5 separate regions of the Homo sapiens genome follow, and all the other regions are linked to region 1. Evidence: promoter capture Hi-C in 16 types of primary human blood cells and fetal thymus (Javierre and others, 2016). All regions are on one chromosome and are shown on one strand. Each heading gives the region's core, a stretch centred on a gene start or on the middle of the fragment in contact. The rest is flanking DNA. Distances are from core to core; before and after follow the strand shown. Region 1 holds the start of C1orf167 (chromosome 1 open reading frame 167). Region 2 holds the start of CIROZ (ciliated left-right organizer protein containing ZP-N domains). Region 3 holds the start of MASP2 (MBL associated serine protease 2). Region 4 holds the start of MTOR-AS1 (MTOR antisense RNA 1). Region 5 holds the start of ANGPTL7 (angiopoietin like 7).

Region 1 (3,613 bases), core at 401-2,900:
TCACTCTGTCACCCAGGCTGGAGGGTAGTGGCATGATCACCACTCACTGCAACCTCCACCTCCCAGGTCCAAGCAATTCTCCTGCCTCAGCCTCCTGAATAGCTGGGATTACAGGTGCACACCATCACACCAGCTACTTTTTGTATTTTTAATAGAGATGGGATTTTGCCATGTTGGCCAGGCTGGTCTTGAACTCCTGACCTCAAGTGATCCGGCTGCCTCGGCCTCCCAAAGTGCTGGGATTACAGGCATGAGCCACCACATCCAGCCTTTTCTTTTCTTTTCTTTTTTTCTTTTTTTTTTTTTTTTTTTTTTGAGACAGAGTCTTGGTCTGTTGCTCAGGCTGGAGTGCAATGGCAGGATCTTGGCTCTCTGCAACCCTTGCCTCCCAGGTTCAAGTGATTCTCCTGCCTCAGCCTCCTGAGTAGCTGGGATTACAGGTGCCCGCCACCATGCCCGGCTAATTTTTGTATTTTTAGTAGAGACAGGGTTTCACCATGTTGGCCAGGCTGGTCTTGAACTCCTGATCTTGTGATCCGTCCACCTCAGCCTCCCAAAGTGCTGGGATTACAGGTGTGAGCCACTGTGCCTAGCCTTTCTTTCTTTCTTTCTTTTAACAAGAAATTTGTTATAGTTTTATTTTCCTTTGCATTTGCAAAATACTTAGGACCAACATGAAAAAGAAATACCTTCTATGGGGAAAAAAATGGCATTAAAAAGGAAGATGGGAAGGCTGAAAGGGATTTGTGCCTTAGTTGCAAGGAGCTGCAGCATCTCTGGTCCAAGGAATCAAAAAGATATTGGGAAGATATAACAGGAGGAAGAAGAATGTGAATTTACTGAGGGAGAGGGCCCCAAAGTGGGCCTTGAGGGGGAACTGGAGGCCCCGGAGTGGGTCTGGGTGGAGGGAGAGTCCCCCCCGGAAGCCATAGGGTGGGTGTTGGGGAGGGCCAGTGTATCCATGAGGCAGCATCGGTGGAGGAGGTCCACACATACCATGGAGGCATAGGACGTGAGTGACCCATGGGAGATCCAGACCGAGACCCCTTGGGGGACATGCTCATTGGAGGAGGTCCAGGATGAGGCATTCCAGGTGGTGATCAGGGTGGTGGCTGCCCCCCAGATCCTGGGGTCCCATCACGGGTGTGTCCTCAGCCATGAGGGCCATGGTTTGCCAGCTGCATCTGAGACATCCCTGGATGGGACATCGCACCTATTGGGAACGGGTGAGGATGTGAGTGTCCATGACCCGGATGTCCTGCCCCTGGGGTTCCTACCAGTGGGAGCCGGGGGCATGTCCTGCAGCCCCAAGAGGCATAGGTGGTGGGGACATGGCTGGGGGTATCCCAGATGTGCGGGGGCTCCAGGAGGCAGCTCTAGGTGCGGGAAGGAGCCAAGAGGAGGCACGCCTGGTGGAGGAAGCCCAGACCCCAGTGATGCTGCCACAGGATTCGGGGCAGAGGGTGGAGGAGGTTCCCGGGGACCTGATGGCCAAGAGAATGTCGCTCATCTTGCACGTGCAAAAGTTGCCCTGGGACCACGTGCCTTGCCTGCGGAGGACCCGGCAAAACCTGTACCAGGACGTCGGTGGCCACGCCCACGGCTCAGGGCTGGGCGGGGCCAAGCGCGGGGCAGCACGCTCTGCTCTCCGACGTCCCCTCCCGCCCGCGACCTGCCGACCTGCGGGGATCGTTAGCGGTCCCAGCCCCCGTCTAGATTCAAATCCGACTGGGTGAAGGAGGACCCGAGGAGGACCCACGCACGTGAGGGCAGATCCATGAGGGCAGGAAACTGACCTCAGACTCTTTTGGTGGCAAGAGGAGGGAGGCTGTGAGCCCCCTTAAGTGGACAGGGGTGGGGGTGGAGTGGGAGGGGGGAGTCTGAGGGAGACGGACGAGGAGCGGAGAAATGGACCGAAGAGCTCCGGCGTGAGGGGCAGGGGTGCAGGAAGGTCTCCTGTGGATTGAGCGGCCTCAAGTCAACTTGGGCAAGAGGGGATGGTGGGGTGTTCTTGGTTAGGAGTCTGCGCTGTGGAGCCAGCCCTGGGGTGCTCCCTCTGAGGCCTTGGGTGGGACAGGCCCTTCTAAGCTCCTGTCCTCATTTCTAAAACAGGGAACCTAAGTCCCAGGGCTGCAGTGCAGATTAAATGGCAGGACGCCTGCTGAAGGCTGCAAGGTGCCTAGCACGGTTGTCATTTATTCAATGTGCATTTACAAGCCCCTGCTGGGGGTCAGGCATTGTTCTATGGGCTGCAAATCCAGCAGGGAAACAAACAAACAAAAAAAACCAGCCTGCCCTCGTGTGGCTCCTAGGCCACTGGAGGGAGAAATACACTAATTTCTTCACTATGTTAGGTGGCCGCAAGTGCAGGGCAAAGAGAGTGAGGAGAGGCCAGGTTGCTGCAGTTGGAGAGACAGTGGGCAGGGAGGGCTCACTGTGATGTGGGAGGCAAGACTTGAAGGCAGAGGGGACAGCAGCACAGAGGCGCTGAGGTGAGGTCGTGTGTGCCATTTGGAGGAGCAGCCAGGGGGCTGGTGTGTGTGGAGGACAGTGGGCAAGGGGAAGAGGAATTGGGGAGGACCATAACTGGCAGCCAGATTTTAAAGACTTTGCGGGGCTGGGTGTGGTGGCTCACGCCTGTAATCCCAGCACTTTGGGAGGCCGAGGCGGGCCAATCACCTGAGGTCAGGAGTTCGAGACCATCCTGGCCATCATGGTGAAACCCTGTCTCTACCAAAAAATAGAAAAATTAGTCTGGCGTGGTGGCATGTGCCTGTGGTTCCAGCTTGTTAGAGGCTGAGGTGGGAGGATCCCTTGAGCCCAGGGAGGCAGGCGGAGGTTGCAGTGAGCCGGGATCACGCCATTGTACCAGCCTGGGTGGCAAAGTGAGACTCCGGCTCAAAAAAAAAAAAAAAAAGGTTTTGCAGCCTAAGGTATCTTGCAGCTATTGAGCTCTGCTATTGCAGCTGGAAAGCAGACAGTCTGTAAACAAATGGGCTTTGTTTCAATATAACTTTATTCACATAATAGACCACTGGCCCAGGCAGTAATTTGCTAACCTCTGGCCTACAGCCTTGAAGGCTCACGGGGCATTGAGGGGGCTGGAGAGCTTCTGTGGCATTAGAGTTGAGGCAGGGCATGATTTGATTTCAGTGTTTACAGGATCACCCTGCCGCCGCATGAAGAGGAGGCTGTCGGGCGTGAGGACGAGGCAGAATAAGGGTGACCAGTTGGGAGGTGGCAGGTGAGGGCCACTCCGCCCAGTGCTCCAGGGGTCAGATCCTGGATGCGTGTGGGAGGCAGAGCCTGTCAGAGCAGCCACTGGTGTGAGGGAGAAGGGGAATCGGGGTGGCTCCAGGATTTTTGTTTGAGCCACCAGAAGGCCGGAGCTGCCATCCGTGGAAAAGGGGGGCACCAAGATGGGAGAGAGCTGGTTGCGAGGACGGCTGGAGTTCAGTTTTGGACATATTAATGCTGAGATGCCTGTTAGACATCCGGGTAGGCGTGGAGGAGGTCGCTGGACCTGCATGTTCAGACCTGTATGCAGATCAGCCGAGAGGTCTGGGGGGCAGGATGGGGCAGCATTTGACCTGGACACTTAATATGGAAAGGG
Region 2 (3,613 bases), core at 735-3,234, 780 kb before region 1:
AAAAGGCAGGAATGGGTGCTGCATTTCCTTCTAGGGCTGCCCTCGTTGAGCCATTCGATTCCTGGGTGGGCAGAGGGCCAGGGCCTCAGGCCCAGCCCAGGGAGGCCAAATGCCAGGGCCCACAGTCTCCCCAGAGTGGGTTGGCAAAGAATGACAGGACTGGTTCCCCAGCCTGGAATCTAAGCTGAGCCTGCAGCCTTTGAGCTGGGAGGAGCTTGCGGCTGCCTGGCTGCCCCGCTGCCCCGCTTCATTCGCTGAATTCAGAAGCGCCTGTGGCGAGCCTCTCCCATGGACGGCCGGGTACCCGCCCTGGGCTCTGCTGCCTGGACACTGAGCCCAATGCGGAATTCCTCTCCCAGCAGCGGGGAGGCGCTATTATTAGTTGATTAATTTGCAAAACAAAAACCTGGCTGGGGCAATTGGTCTTGAAGGAAGGTTCTCCCAGAGCGAGTAAATCTGAGACAGGACCAGAAGAATAATCTTGGGGAAAAGGAAAGTGGCTGACTCTGGTGCTGAGTCCCGGCCTTGCCAGGGACCCCGACTCTGCTGTTACACAGGGAATGCTGTCTGGAATCGGCCCGGTGGCAGGTGGGGGGTAGACAGCTCTCCCCTCCGTCTGATGCCTGCTCCTGTTCTCCTCCTTGAGCATCAATCGGGAGAAAGATGTGGGTTTGGGTTTTTCCCCCTCACTTCTCAGACCCAGAACTGCCCCATCCCAGTCTGGGGGGAGACATGATGCTCCATCCCCCAAAGCTGAGCCCCCTCATGGGGCATCCAGGAGAAGGCAATGGGTCCCCAGGACAGGGCCCGGACCTCCCCCTTGCTCGCCCAGCCCCACAAAGCCCCACTCAGCTTCTCCACTGCCTTCATTGTCTACAGACTTCAACCTCACAAAACGCCCAACAAAAGCCCTGCAGTCCACGGCCCAAAGGCCACAAGCCAGCTATTGTGACATTCCAGCTGGCCTGGGAGGCTTCACTTCCCACTCTCAGGAGCTTTTTAAAGTATCTCTTAAAAATGCATCTCAGATGGGGAAAAGAGGTAGCAATTCTGTTGCCAAGGAAAATGAGATTTTGGCCAAGTGCAGTGAGTCATGCCCGTAATCCCAATACTTTGGGAGGCCGAGACAGGAGGATGGCTTGAACCCAGGAGTTTAAGACCAGCCTGGGCAACACAGTAAGACCCTGTCTCTACAAAAAAATTAAAAAATTACCAAAGTGTGGTGGCACATGCCTATGGTCCCAGCTACTCAGGAGGCTAAAGTGGGATGATCACTTGAGCCCAGGAGTTAAGAGATGACAGTGAACTATGATCTTGCCACTGCACTCCAGCCTGGGCAACAGAGCAAGACTCTATCTCAGGAAGAAGGAGAGACAGAGAGGGAGAGAGAGAGAGAAAGAGAAAAGAAAGGAAAGGGAAGGAAGGAAGGAGAAAGGAAGGAAGGCAGGGAGGGAAGGAAGGAAGGGAGGGAAGGAAGGAAAATGAAATTTTCTCCTAATCCTTACAATCGAATAGCTAGCGACCACAACTCCTATCATTTGAAAACTCCTTGAAATCAAGCATCTCTTGGTCAACTTGACCCCTAATTTGTTTTGTTTTAAGGACCCTCTAGGACAAGGAAGACGTGTTCTGTTTTCTCCCAATCTTCTGGAAATCCTTCCCAAGATGGGAGGACTGGAATTCCAGAACAAGGGATGACAGGAGCATGAGAAAGGTGGGAGAGACTGTGGCCGGACCTCACCTGAGAAAGTCAGCCCTTCCCAAGGCATCCATGCATCTGGGCCCCTCACCCATTTGGCCCCCTTCCCTCTTAGATGCAAGGCTTCTGATTCTGATGGAAGATATTTGGCTTCTTCAAGGAGTGTGGGCACACTAAGCATGCCACTGGCTTCTCCCAATTCCTGAATAAGGGACACTTACCAGGCAAGTGCTGGGGACCCCCACATCCTCAGGCCCAGCAGCTCTCTCCTGCCCTGGGAGAATTTAATCTGAAGCAGTTCCAAGCAACTAAACGAAAGGTTGGCTCCTCCCCTTCCCCTCCAGTGCAGGTCTCGGGTCACTCAGGTGCCAGAAAACACAGGTGGGTGTCAACACTCTCAGCTTCTCCCCATCCCTCTGCATGGGTGAGATGAATTGCTTCAGCCGTGGGAGCTCAAAATAAGATTGCGGATCAGAAGGCTGAAGATGAATTGATCCACTGAGGCTGGAGTGCAGGCCCTCATTCTCCGCTCCCGGGAGAAGCCTGTCTCTGTGCCCAAGGAAGGAAAGAAGCTAAGAAACTGAGCTTCACCGGAGGAACAGTCACGCTGTCTTGATGGGGCTTCCCAGAACCCTGCTCCAGGCCCCTCCTGGCAGAGTTCAAAAGGAGCTGAGGGGCCAGGCATGGTGGCTCATGCCTGTAACCCCAGCATTTTGGGATGCAGAGATGGGCAGATTGTTTGAGGTCAGGAGTTCGAAACAAGCCAGGGGAACATGGCAAGACCCTGTCTCTACAAAAAATTTAAAAACTAGCTGGGCATGGTGGCACACACCTGTGGTCCTAGCTACTCAGGAGGCTGAGGTGAGAGGATTGCTTGAGCCCAGGAGGTTGAGGCTGCAGTGAGCCCTGATTGTGCTACTGCACTCCAGCCTGGGCAACAGAACAAGACCCTGTCTAAAAAAAAAAAAAAAAGGGGCCGGGCACAGTCACTCATGCCCATAATCCCAGTGATTTGGGAGGGCGAGGCAGGCTGATCACCTGATGTCAGGACTTCGAGACCAGCCTGGCCAACATGGTGAAACCTTATCTCTACTAAAAATACAAAACTAGCCAGGTGTGGGGGTGCACGCCTGTAATCCCAGCTACTTGGGAAGTTAAGGCAGGAGAATTGCTTGAACCCGGGAGATGGAGGTTGCAGTGAGCCAAGATCGTACCATTGTACTGCAGCCTGGGTGACAAGAGCAAAACTCCGTCTAAAAAAAAAAAAAAAAAAAAAAAAAAAAAAAAAAAAAAAAAAAAAGACCAGGCGCAGTGACTCACGCCTGTAATCCTAGCACTTTGGGAGGCTGAGGTGGGTGGATCATCAGGTCAGGAGTTTGAGACCAGCCTGGCCAACATGGTGAAACCCTGTCTCTACCAAAAATACAAAAAATAGCCGGGCTTGGTGGTGGGCACCTGTAATCCCAGCTACTCTGGAGGCTGAGGCAGGAGAATCGCTTGAACCTGGAAGGCAGAGATTGCAGACAGCTGAGATCGTGCCATTGCACTCCAGCCTGGGCGATACAATAAGACTCCGTCTCAAAAAAAAAAAAAAAAAGGAAGAGGAGATTAGGGCACGGACACATACGGAGGAATGACGGTGTGAGGACACAGGGAGAAGATGGCCAGCTGTGAGCCAGAGAGGCAGCTCCGGAGAAACCAGCCCTGCCTGCACCTTGATCTCAGACTCCTAGCCTCTAGAACTGTGAAGAAATCAATTGGTGTGTAAATCCCAAGTCTGTGGTACTCTGTCGTGGCAGCCCTTGCAAACAAATATCCCTGCAAAATGAGGATTTAGGACTAGATGGTTCCTAATACCCTTTGCAAGTGAAAAAAAAAAAAAGTCTTGATTTTAACTATTCCATTTTATCTGTG
Region 3 (3,613 bases), core at 817-3,316, 710 kb before region 1:
GGTACACAGTGGGATGTTAGAATTAGTCTCAGTCGCTAGGGCAGGGTGGCACTGATGAGCCTGGCTGCTGAGAGGGGAAGCAGGGCTGAGAAGGGGAGCTGGAGGCAGCAGGGCCTAGAAGCACCCAGTGTCCAGGGCCCAGGCCCTCCGCACCCCTGGGCAGAGCAGCAATGGCCCTGAGGAGCCCCGGGTATCCCAGGAGAGGGTGCGTTGGGGCCCAGGCAGCCTCCCTCACCTGAGCAGGTGCGCTTGTTACGGTGCAGGACGTAGCCTGCGCGGCAGGAGCAGTAGAAACCGCCCAGGTGGTTGTGGCAGTGGTGGTCGCAGGTGGGCGCCTCTCCCGGGGCCACCTGGCACTCGTCAATGTCTGGGGGAGAGGCAGGGCCAGGCAGGCCGTCAGGAGGGAAAGAGGCGGGATCCAGCCTGGACTCCTCCCAGGAGATCCATGACCTCAGAGTGGACCTCAGAGGAGGCCTCGTCCTGTCTAGGGTGCGGGACTGGTGCCGGGCCAATCACCTTACAGGCCTAGGGTCGCTGCAAGCTCCCAGCAGCGCTGGGAGAAAGATGCAAACATCACCTCTGTTAAACCAGTGGGAGTTTCAGTGTCCGGCCCGAGGTCACCCAGCTAATGAGGGGAGTCAATCAAACCCAGGGGGCGGGGCTACAGCGCTGAACCCTTGCAGCAGCTTCCTAAGGAGCAGAGAAATTGAGCCACTTGCCAGAGGTCACACAGTTGGTCTCTGCAGGGACTGGGATCTGAAATCAAACATCCTGGCAGCGCTCCCGCTGGCAGGGCCCCACTTTGTCAGCTGTAAATGGGGCCCTCGGCCCCTGCGTCGTTTTTGTTTTTTGTTTTTTGAGACGGAGTCTAGCTCTGTCGCCCAGGCTGGAGTGTAGTGGTGCAATCTCTGTTCACTGCAGCCTCCACCTCGCAGGTTCAAGCAATTCTCCTGCCTCAGCCTCCCTAGTAGCTGGGATTCCAGGTGCGCACCACCACGCCCAGCTAATTTTTGTAGTTTTAGTGGAGATAGAGTTTCACCGTGTTGCCCTGGCTGGCCTTGAACTCCTGACCTCAAATGATCAGCCAGCCTCGGCCTCCCAAAGTGCTGGAATTACAGGCGTGAGCTGCTGCGCCCGGCCAGTCCCTGCGTCACTTGAGGCGATGCTGTCCTCAGATCCCTGGCTCAGAGTTGGCACTCAGCCCATGTGAATGGAGGTCACGGCTGTTTTGGTCTTTGCATTGTGGATGATGTCAGGCCAGAGGCCTCTCCCCTGCCCTGGGAAAGGTGGGGAAACTGAAGGCAGGGCTGCCTGGCCTAAGACAGAGTTACCCCCACAGCCAGCTGCGCAGACTGAGATGTTGCAGGACCCCTCTTGGCTCACCCTCGGCTGCATAGAAGGCCTCGAACCCCGTGAACGGCTTCTCGTTGGAGTAGTCGGAGCGGAAGGTAATGTCCAGGCTGGAGCCCAGCGAGTAGAAAGTGTCCTTGCCAGGGGCCCGCTCCGTGTCTGTGCTCTCCTGCCCGCACAGCGTGGCCAGCACCTTGGCCCCCGAGCTCAGCTGTGGGGTCAGGTGTCACAGGGAGTGAAGGCAAGACCCAGGCCTGATCTCCCTCCTGGCCAAGCCTGGCCCCTGCTCCCAGGTGTCCCTGAACCCTGGCTACTCCTTGGGGACCCCCCGACCCTGAGAAACCCCAGCCCTCCCGTCCTGACGGCACCTTGACGAAGTCGTACTCGCAGAGGTGGGAGAGCTCCAGGTCGAAGTGGGTGAAGTAGAGGCGCAGGCGGTAGCCGGGGGGTGCAGTCAGGGTCCAGCGCCGCTCCTGGTCATTGGCATACTCCCCTGGAAAGCCGGGGGATGCCAGGCGCCCGAACACAGGTTCAGGCCACTTCGGGCCCAAGGGGGTGGCCACCGAGCCACACAGAAGGCCCAGGAGGGTCAGCAGCCTATGGGCAGGGCAGGGGCGGTGAGGGCCCAGGCCTGTGCTCCCACCCCACACCCTGCAGGGAGGCTGTGGGCGCCCACCTACCTCATGGTGTGCCCGTCCAGCTGGCCTGGCCTGGTCTGCAGCCCTACGCTGGTCTCACCTTTGATCTGTTTGTCCAGTGACCTGCCCCTGCCCCCAGCCTCCCTGACTCTGGGATTCTGGGAATCGACTCCATGACTCCAGCCTGCTCAGAGTTCCAGGCAGGCAGGACAGGCTGCTCTGGGAGCCAGGAGTCGGACCTAGGTAACAACAGCCTGGAAACAAATCCTGGCTCTGCCCCTCACCCCTCCCTTTTTTTTGGATCTTGTTCTGTTGCCCCGGCTTCAGTGCAGTGCTGCAATCATAGCTCACTGCAGCCTCTACTTCCTGTGTTCAAGCAATCCTCCCACCTCAGCCTCCCAAGTAGCTGGGATTACAGGCGAGCACCACCACACCTGGCTAATTTTTTATTTTTGGTAGGGATGGGGTTTCTCCATGTTGGTCAGGCTGGTCTTGAACTCCTGCCCTCAGGTGATCCACCTGCCTTAGCCTCCCAAAGTGCTGGGATTACAGGTGTGAGCCACCGTGCCCAGCCTCAGGCTGGCTAATTTCTTAAACCCTGTCAGAAGGACCTGGTGCCACCAATTCCCGATTCCCTTGCAGGCTTAGAAGTCGCTTTTGGCTGGGCTCGGTGGCTTATACCTGTAATCCCAGCACTTTGGGAGGCCAAGGTGGGTGGATCACGAGGTTGGGAGTTTGAGACCAGCCTGACCAACATGGTGAAATCCCATCTCTACTAAAAATACAAAAATCATCCAGGTGTGGCAGCGCGCACTTATAATCCCAGCTACTCGGGAGGCTGAGGCAGGAGAATTGCTTGAGCCTGGGAGGCGGAGGTTGCAGTGATCCGAGATCGCACCACTGCACTCCAGCCTGGACGACAGAGTGAGACTCCACCTCAAAAAAAAAAAAAAAAAAAAAGAAGTTGCTTTCCAGGCAGTTATTTCACACCTGTTTATCTGTTCTTCCAGCTTCCAGAACTTTGAGGCTGCTGCTTCCTCTTCCACACTCTGTCCTCATGGATTCATGTCTTGTCTTTTTTTTTTTTTTATCCCCTTTATATTTGTTTTTGTTTTTTGTAGAGATGGGGGTCTCCCTGTGTTGCCCAGGCTGGTCTTGAACTCCTGAGCCAAAGCGATGCACCTGCCTCAGCCTCGCAAAGTGCTGGGATTACAGGTGTGAGCCACCAAACCTCTGCCTCCGGGGTTCGAGCAATTCTCCTGCCTCAGCCTCCCGAGTAGCTGGGATTACAGGCATGCGCCACCACGTCCGGCTAGTTTTGTATTTTTAGTAGAGACGGAGTTTCTCCATGTTGGTCAGGCTGGTCTCGAACTCCCAACCACAGGTGATCCACCCGCCTCAGCCTCCCAAAGTGCTGGGATTACAGGCGTGAGCCACCATGCCTGGCCTATTTTCTTTTAGAGACCGGGACTCTGGCTGGGTGTAGTGACTCCTGCCCATAATCCCAGGAGGCTGGGAGGCTGAGGCAGGTGGGTCGCCTGAGACCGGGAGTTCAAGACCAGCTTGGGCAACATAGCAAGACCTTGTCTCTAAAAAAAAAAAAAATTTTTTTAAATTAGCCAGGC
Region 4 (3,613 bases), core at 786-3,285, 620 kb before region 1:
TGGTGGTGGGCGCCTGTAGTCCCAGCTACTCAGGAGGCTGAGGCAGAAGAATGGCGTGAACTTGGGAGGCGGAGCTTGCAGTAAGCCGAGATCGTGCCACTGCACTCCAGACTGGGGGACTCAGCGAGACTCCGTCTCAAAAATAAATAAATAAATAAATAAATAAAATAAAATAATAAAAAAGTGAATTAATTATCAAAGGGGCTTAAGCTAATTTTACATCTAACAACTATAGAGAGTCAGGTTGGGGACGGCTGCCTAAGGGTATTTCACTCACAGTACCCTTAACCTGAGATTCTATCAGCAAATCTCCGTTGTGTTTCACAGTGGATTTGGCTGTGGCTTGCAGGGAAGTTAAAATGTATCAGAAGGCCAGGCATGGTGGCTCATGCCTGTAATCCCAGAACTTTGGGAGCAGAAGCAGGCAGAACTCCTTTTTTTTTGGAGATGGAGTATCATTCTGTCCCTCAGGCTGGAGTGCAGTGGCGCAATCTTGGCTCACTGCAACCTCTGCCTCCCAGGTCCAAGCGATTCTCCTGCCTCAGCCTCCCAAGGAGCTGGGATTACAGGTGTGCGCCACCACGCCTGGCTAATTTTTGTATTTTTTTCTTTTAGCAGAGAGGGGGTTTCTCTATGTTGGCCAGGCTAAGTCTCAAACTCCTGACCTCAAGCAATCCACCTGCCTCAGCCTCCCAAAGTGCTGGGATTACAGGTGTGAGCCACCATGCCTGGCCAAGTGAACTCCTTTTTCATCCTTGTTGATAAGAAGTCAGACTCAGAAGGGGAGTTCCTGAGATCTACTGCTTCATGGTAAATTCCATGAACCCATGGAGCTGTCCTCCATGGAGATAAACTTAAAAGTCTAGCGACAATGATCTCAGGCTTTTAGCTATGATAAGATGCAGTCTGAGCCTGACTGGAGAACCCAAGGCTAGAAGAGACCCAGCGCCAGTAAGGCTGACCTCTCTAACTGCCCTATGGGAGGGTCTTAGGAACCAAAAGCATTGGTGCAACTCCAAAGAAAAGTAACAAACATGTATTTTTCCACTACTATAATACTGGTTGGGGATTTTAATTTAAATGATTTGACCACAAAATGGCAGTTTTCTAGCCCCAGCAGTTCATTTGACAGCAAGCCATCCACAAGAGCCAAATTTCCACTATAAATGTAATGCTTTACTTTCAGGCCTTGGACCACATTTTTCCATCCCATGAAGTGTGACAACAATGATTTCGAAAGTTAAAATAACAGAAAAAAGTACACTGAGTGATTGTTTTTTGTGACTTCTCACCAATAGTTAGGTTCTCCCAGATGCTGAAATAATTTGGCCTCCTGTAAGCCAAAAAGCATCTTGCTGCCTCAAGATAGGAAAGTCACGAAGGCTTAAGGTGGTGGCAGTGTCCTGGACCCAGTAAAGTCAGACAGGCATCTCTCTTCCCAGGACTCATTCCATGCCTCCCCTCTCCTCTAAGTCTACATTTGGATCAAGTCCCACTTGTCAGACTGTCAGAAGGTTCATCAGATCTCTGCTGTAGAAACTCTTTATTATAGGCATTTCAAAGAATTGGGGTGTGTACAAATCAAGTGGGAAATGCTTATTTGTGGAATTCTTTCTGGTGCCCAGGAGACAATTTTCCATCAAAACATTCACTGGGCATTTCATAATTACTAATAAAACATGTAAAAGAACTGTATGTGCTCATTTCAGAGCCATAAATGACTGTATTCATAGATGTTCCTTTGCCCATTGCTCTTTCCTGTCCAGGGGAATGTGCCCTGAGCTTCCTAGGCAGGAATGTGTTTGGAGTCAAAAGGTTTTGTCGCAGCCTACTGAGACGCCTGGAAGCACAAACTTCGATTGGTCTGAAGCGAGAATTTGGAATTAGCAATTAGGTGGGGATCTAGTTGAGAGGAAATGGTTTATAATTGCGGGGATGGATTATGATAGGTAGGGAGACAAATGGTTTCTGGAGTGGTAAAGGCTTTCTCTCTTTTTTCTTTTGCTGATGAACTTCCTATCCTACCCACTCAAGGAATGGGATAACTGGCCATCCTTCCCAGAACATTTAGACTCCTGACTCCCAGACCTGGAGTGACAGTTTCTCATGTTAAAATGATCAGAATGTGAGAATGAAAACACTGATGGAGGACTTGGGAAAGCTTCTTCTCTACAAGCGGAAACTGCAGTGGAAAAAAAGTCTCAATAGAGGCGACAGGATGACTCTGACCTAAGTAGCTATAAATAGCAGGAGTTGGCCAATGAGAACCTAAGGCAACCCCATCTGAAAAGCTGGTGCAGGTGGCCTCCAAGTGTAGTTAGAGCAGTGGTTCTTAGCTTTGGCTGGTGGAATCATCTGGGGGAACCTGAAAAGATACTGATCCTGAGTCTCTCCCCAGAAATTTAATTGGCCTGGGGAATAGCCTGGGCATCAGGATTTTAAAAAGCTCTGCAGGTGATTCTACTGTGCTGCTAAGGTTGAGAACCACTGATTTTGAGGTTATGATTCCTAACTGACTGGTCACAGGTGTCACTTACTAAAAAACATTTTTTTTAATTCCTAGAGAAGAGAATAAGAAGAGACTGGAAAATTGGTCATTCTCTCACAGCTTAAGTTTAGGTGAGGAGCCTTTGAGTATTCTGCTTTGTATGCAAGCCAAGCAATACACTGGTGGAGGAGGCAGGAAAAGCAAGTTGAGTAAGAGCCAGGGTGGAGGGGGGCACTCACCCAGGTCCTGGAAGGGGTAGGGGTAGGTGGGTGAACTGGGGCTTTCTACCAAGCTCACCTGCAGTCTCTCCCACCAGATCTGGCGGATGATCTCTCGTCGCTCGGGGACAAGTTTGTACTGGATAACCTCCTCCAGCTCGGACAGCATGTGGCAAGAAACCATGGCCTGATGGAAGCAAATCGCATTCCAAACTAATTACTGCACGAACAATCCAAAAGACAGGATTAATTTAAATCATTCCTTCTGGTGTCAGGGTATCTGCCGATCAGAGAAAACAGGCATGTTTCCAGCAGCCTGTAAGTTCTCAATAGCCCATTCTGAAAAAAGTATGGAAATAAGCCTCAAAAATGACAATGTGCAGAATAGTTGACACTTACCCCATATGCCCGACTGTAACTCTCTCCTGCCATCGCAGTTAATTCAGCATCCAGCAGGTCCCTGGCCTTGTCAATGCACTAGAAGAGAAACAACCCTTGGGACTGAGCTCTGGACTTGGGAGCTTAGGGTTATTTTAGGGCACCCCAACTAGCTACAGAAGTTATCTGTCTCACTTAAATTCCAGGGATGAAAAGAGAAATTCGCTGAAGAAGGGCATTTTCCCAGAACTGAATGGCTTGAGAGGAGGTATTATCCAATTTCTCATCGAAGACAGAAATGTATGGCATCCAAAACTTTAACATCTATCTAAGGTAACACACAAAATCTTAGGTGGCAAGGGCATGGGAATGTGGGCTGTAAAACCGAATCATGGGTTCTTGCATCTCAAGAGGACATAACTGGGGATCTACCTTTTTTTTTTCTTCTGAGACACAGTCTCACTCTGTCACCCAGGCTGGAGTGCAGTGGTGTGATCTTGGCTCACTGCAGTCTCCACCTCCCGGGTTC
Region 5 (3,613 bases), core at 653-3,152, 570 kb before region 1:
ACTCCTGTGAGGATCTAATGCTGCCACCGATCTGACAGGAGGCAGAGCTCAGGCGGTAATGCTCACTCACCTGCCACTCACCTCCTGCTGTATGGCCCTATTCCTAACAGGCCATGGACAAGTACAGGTCTGCAGCCTGGGGATTAGGGACCCCTGCTATACATGACTGTATGGTACATAGCACTTCTGTGGCATGTGGTTTAAGCTCAGTGTCATTTGATGGCCAGGAGATCCACTTGAAAATCCCTATTTTTAGCAGACCTTGTAGGATGCCAATATTTGGGGCCAGAGTCTCGTTACTAAAATGAATGCTATGGAGCTAAGGCTGTGGTGCCCAGCTGGGCTAGACATTTGCAAAAAGAGAGCAGACTGGCAGACAGTGCCAATTCTCAACAGAATCTTTTGATTAGAATGCCAAGTTGCTATAAGGGTATCAGTAACATCCTCACCCTTTAGCAGGCAAAGGAGGCTGGGTATGTGAGAAAACAAACTCTGATCCACCTGATCCTCCACTGCTTTTTGATTCTGAGAAAAAAAAAAATTGTTCAGTAACTCCAGCTGCCTGAACAGAAATTACTTTCTGAGGAGCTAGAAGCCCTGACTGGAAAAGAGCTCTGGGGGATTATGGCATGGGAGGAGAGCTGTCAGGCATCAGGCTTATGTGGGAAGGACCCACGCTGACTACAACAGTACAAGTAACTGCCTGAGTGGCTCCATAACATGGAAACAGCAATCGTATGTTCCAAAGACAGAGTTACTGTTTTAAGGACAGAGGAACCTTTGTATAGATTCTTAGTGAAAAGCTTATTTTAAGGATGTTTGCTGAAACTCCATGTTTTTCACATTTCTTTTCAAAAGAGCATTGTCCTTCATATATAGTACATGAAAAATTACAATATTCATGTTTTTTAGATACAAAGTCATATACAAATAGAGGAGGAATAATTTCAAATTGCAAACCATACCAGCAAAGAAAGAGGGAAATGAGACTCTAGATATGGATTTATTAGGTGACAGGGATTCTTTTCTCTATATTTTAATATATTTTCCAAGTTTTGAACCACGGGCTAAGGATGGGCCTGTTCTCTGTCCTGCCTAGAAACTGACAGAAGCATGGGTGACCAATCCCAGACATGCTTGGCACTGCTGAGTTTTCATCTCTGTTGTAATCTTCTGACACCTCCTTGCAAAATATCAAGTGTTATATGCTAATACTGGCCCTCTCTTTGTTGAAGGAGAAAGCATGTAAAAAGACAACTGTCCAAACCCTGTGGCTACAAAGTCTTTTTTTGGCTTCCTAAGAGATTTACTCTATTCTTCTATTTCTAGAACTTTTCTAAGTTGGAAGATTTCAAATGTGAGATAGTGTTAGATCCAGGTTGAGTAAGGATTTTATAAAATACTAAATAATGATCAGAGATGGGAATAATCAGCCTAGATAAAAGCATATTCAGCAGGATGTCAAAATATACCAGATCCTCATATAAACAGCATGGATTACATTAACAGGCCTCCCTGGGTGAGTAGCGTCTCTTTCGCCTACCTTACGCTCACCCCATGGTTATATAACCTTTTGAACGGAATTTGGAAATTCTTCTGACCCTGTCCTGCTTGCTGATAGAGTTGAGCCAGTGGCTGGCAGGGGCATAATCTAATAGGCGAAACTGGAAACACACAAATTCACAGTCCTCTTGTCTTAGCCCAGAGACTGTACAGGCAAGGAAAGAAAGACTCGCCCCATCTCCCTCCTCCCCTCCTCTGGCCTAAGTTGCCGCTGACTTCACCCAACAGGCACCTGACCCTCCCAGATGAGCTGGGAGGGGCTAAAGCCTGGTGCAGCCATGGTAGGGGTGGAGGTACAGGCAGCAAACAATATTTAAGATGCTGACTTGTGGAGCATTCGGGCTTGGAAGGAAAGCTATAGGCTACCCATTCAGCTCCCCTGTCAGAGACTCAAGCTTTGAGAAAGGCTAGCAAAGAGCAAGGAAAGAGAGAAAACAACAAAGTGGCGAGGCCCTCAGAGTGAAAGCGTAAGGTTCAGTCAGCCTGCTGCAGCTTTGCAGACCTCAGCTGGGCATCTCCAGACTCCCCTGAAGGAAGAGCCTTCCTCACCCAAACCCACAAAAGATGCTGAAAAAGCCTCTCTCAGCTGTGACCTGGCTCTGCATTTTCATCGTGGCCTTTGTCAGCCACCCAGCGTGGCTGCAGAAGCTCTCTAAGCACAAGACACCAGCACAGCCACAGCTCAAAGCGGCCAACTGCTGTGAGGAGGTGAAGGAGCTCAAGGCCCAAGTTGCCAACCTTAGCAGCCTGCTGAGTGAACTGAACAAGAAGCAGGAGAGGGACTGGGTCAGCGTGGTCATGCAGGTGATGGAGCTGGAGAGCAACAGCAAGCGCATGGAGTCGCGGCTCACAGATGCTGAGAGCAAGTACTCCGAGATGAACAACCAAATTGACATCATGCAGCTGCAGGCAGCACAGACGGTCACTCAGACCTCCGCAGGTAAGGAGACCAGTCCCCTGAGGGAGCGTGGAGTGCCTCCCCATCTACAGCACTGCTTCTACATATCCTGGTCATCAGAACCACTACTGGGGCCTCTTTTGTGGGTACACTTTCCCTTTAGTAAAGGCTTATGCAGTATTTCCTTTGACTTCTAATGCTATGTAAGTTTACCTAACACCTTCACGGGTCTCTTTTATCCACACAGTGTTTCAGCCTACCATCTTGGAGTGCTGAGATACTACATGGTTTGCCCAAAGTCACCCAGCAAGTCTTAGAAGCAGGGTTCAAGTCTTCCTGATTGGTGTAGCTCTGCTACTTCCTCACCAAGAGCTGACAGGCTATATCTCAAGAAATTCCAAGGAAGCACCAAACTGTAACAGCTGTTCCTCTGGAAGCAAAGTTTTGCCAGAAACAGTTCTCTGGTGTTCCTAAGATTTACCAGGAATGAGCATTAATGGAATTTTGTGTCCTCTCTCTGTAAACGTAACTCTTCTCATTGGCTCAGAGTTAAGTGTAGAGACACATAACCATGTGAAGAGTCCCTTTGTGTTCAGGAAGGATGCGGCTCCTTAAGGTTCCTCAATTGTGATACGTCTATTTTTTTCCATGGTCTTAAATGAATTTCTCCGAATACAGGATTTTTTAAATGCAATGCTGAAATATAGACTTAATAGGCCAAAAATAAGATAAATTTAATCTTTCTTTTGCAAAATAACTTTTATTTCTGGTTAGCTCAGCTCAGGTGGGCCAACATGAATTTACGGTTTAGAGATAAAAATTTGGTTTTCTGAAATTATCAGGAAAATATTAGTTGTAAGGAGCATATCCTATAGACATGTCATTTCTTGCTGATATAAAAACCATTGGTCCCATTATAAACTACATGAAGAACAAAGACATGATCAGCTTCTACTGACTAAGTCAATGGTTAACCTCAGCTCAAATTAAGAAAAAGTTTTAACATGAAACCAAGCTTGAAAATTCTGTTACCTGAACCAACATGTATCAATCACTTTCTAAGCATGGACTTCCGGGCCCTCAGTTTGGGATTAGAAAGGTATTCTCAGGCCATTTTCCAGACAAGTGAGTCCTGATTTGGTCTGTGAGATG

What was found. The method cuts DNA at HindIII sites, captures the fragments that hold promoters and counts their contacts. A CHiCAGO score of 5 or more calls a contact.
Region 2: a contact is called between the fragment with the promoter of CIROZ here and the fragment with the promoter of C1orf167 in region 1, in 12 of 17 cell types (total B cells, naive CD8 T cells, naive CD4 T cells and 9 more). The highest score is 12.0, in total B cells.
Region 3: the fragment with the promoter of MASP2 here is called in contact with the fragment with the promoter of C1orf167 in region 1 in 1 of 17 cell types (M2 macrophages); the score reaches 5.1 in M2 macrophages.
Region 4: the fragment with the promoter of MTOR-AS1 here is called in contact with the fragment with the promoter of C1orf167 in region 1 in 17 of 17 cell types (naive CD8 T cells, total B cells, naive B cells and 14 more); the score reaches 18.3 in naive CD8 T cells.
Region 5: the fragment with the promoter of ANGPTL7 here is called in contact with the fragment with the promoter of C1orf167 in region 1 in 9 of 17 cell types (total B cells, naive B cells, total CD4 T cells and 6 more); the score reaches 8.9 in total B cells.

What each region holds. Positions count from the first base shown.
Region 1 is chr1:11,760,543-11,764,155 of GRCh38, forward strand. It overlaps C1orf167 (chromosome 1 open reading frame 167), which reads left to right and starts at 1,651. Exons shown (of 21, transcript NM_001010881.2): 1 at 1,651-1,763. It also overlaps the pseudogene LOC101060126. The HindIII fragment of the contact is 5,648 bases long and covers 1-3,613 here.
Region 2 is chr1:10,980,092-10,983,704 of GRCh38, forward strand. It overlaps CIROZ (ciliated left-right organizer protein containing ZP-N domains), which reads right to left and starts at 1,985. Exons shown (of 13, transcript NM_001170754.2): 1 at 1,921-1,985. The coding sequence starts at 1,946. The HindIII fragment of the contact is 7,392 bases long and covers 1-3,613 here.
Region 3 is chr1:11,045,173-11,048,785 of GRCh38, forward strand. It overlaps MASP2 (MBL associated serine protease 2), which reads right to left and starts at 2,067. Exons shown (of 11, transcript NM_006610.4): 1 at 2,031-2,067; 2 at 1,719-1,947; 3 at 1,384-1,561; 4 at 236-367. The coding sequence starts at 2,035. RefSeq lists an enhancer at 572-1,404. The HindIII fragment of the contact is 27,395 bases long and covers 1-3,613 here.
Region 4 is chr1:11,141,863-11,145,475 of GRCh38, forward strand. It overlaps MTOR-AS1 (MTOR antisense RNA 1), which reads left to right and starts at 2,036. Exons shown (of 4, transcript NR_046600.1): 1 at 2,036-2,125; 2 at 2,805-3,024; 3 at 3,291-3,417. MTOR (mechanistic target of rapamycin kinase) reads right to left here. Exons shown (of 58, transcript NM_004958.4): 33 at 3,106-3,183; 34 at 2,786-2,893. The HindIII fragment of the contact is 11,786 bases long and covers 1-2,159 here.
Region 5 is chr1:11,187,453-11,191,065 of GRCh38, forward strand. ANGPTL7 (angiopoietin like 7) reads left to right here and starts at 1,903. Exons shown (of 5, transcript NM_021146.4): 1 at 1,903-2,503. The coding sequence starts at 2,128. All of the region lies in intron 28 of MTOR (mechanistic target of rapamycin kinase), which reads right to left. RefSeq lists an enhancer at 2,256-2,756. The HindIII fragment of the contact is 1,155 bases long and covers 802-1,956 here.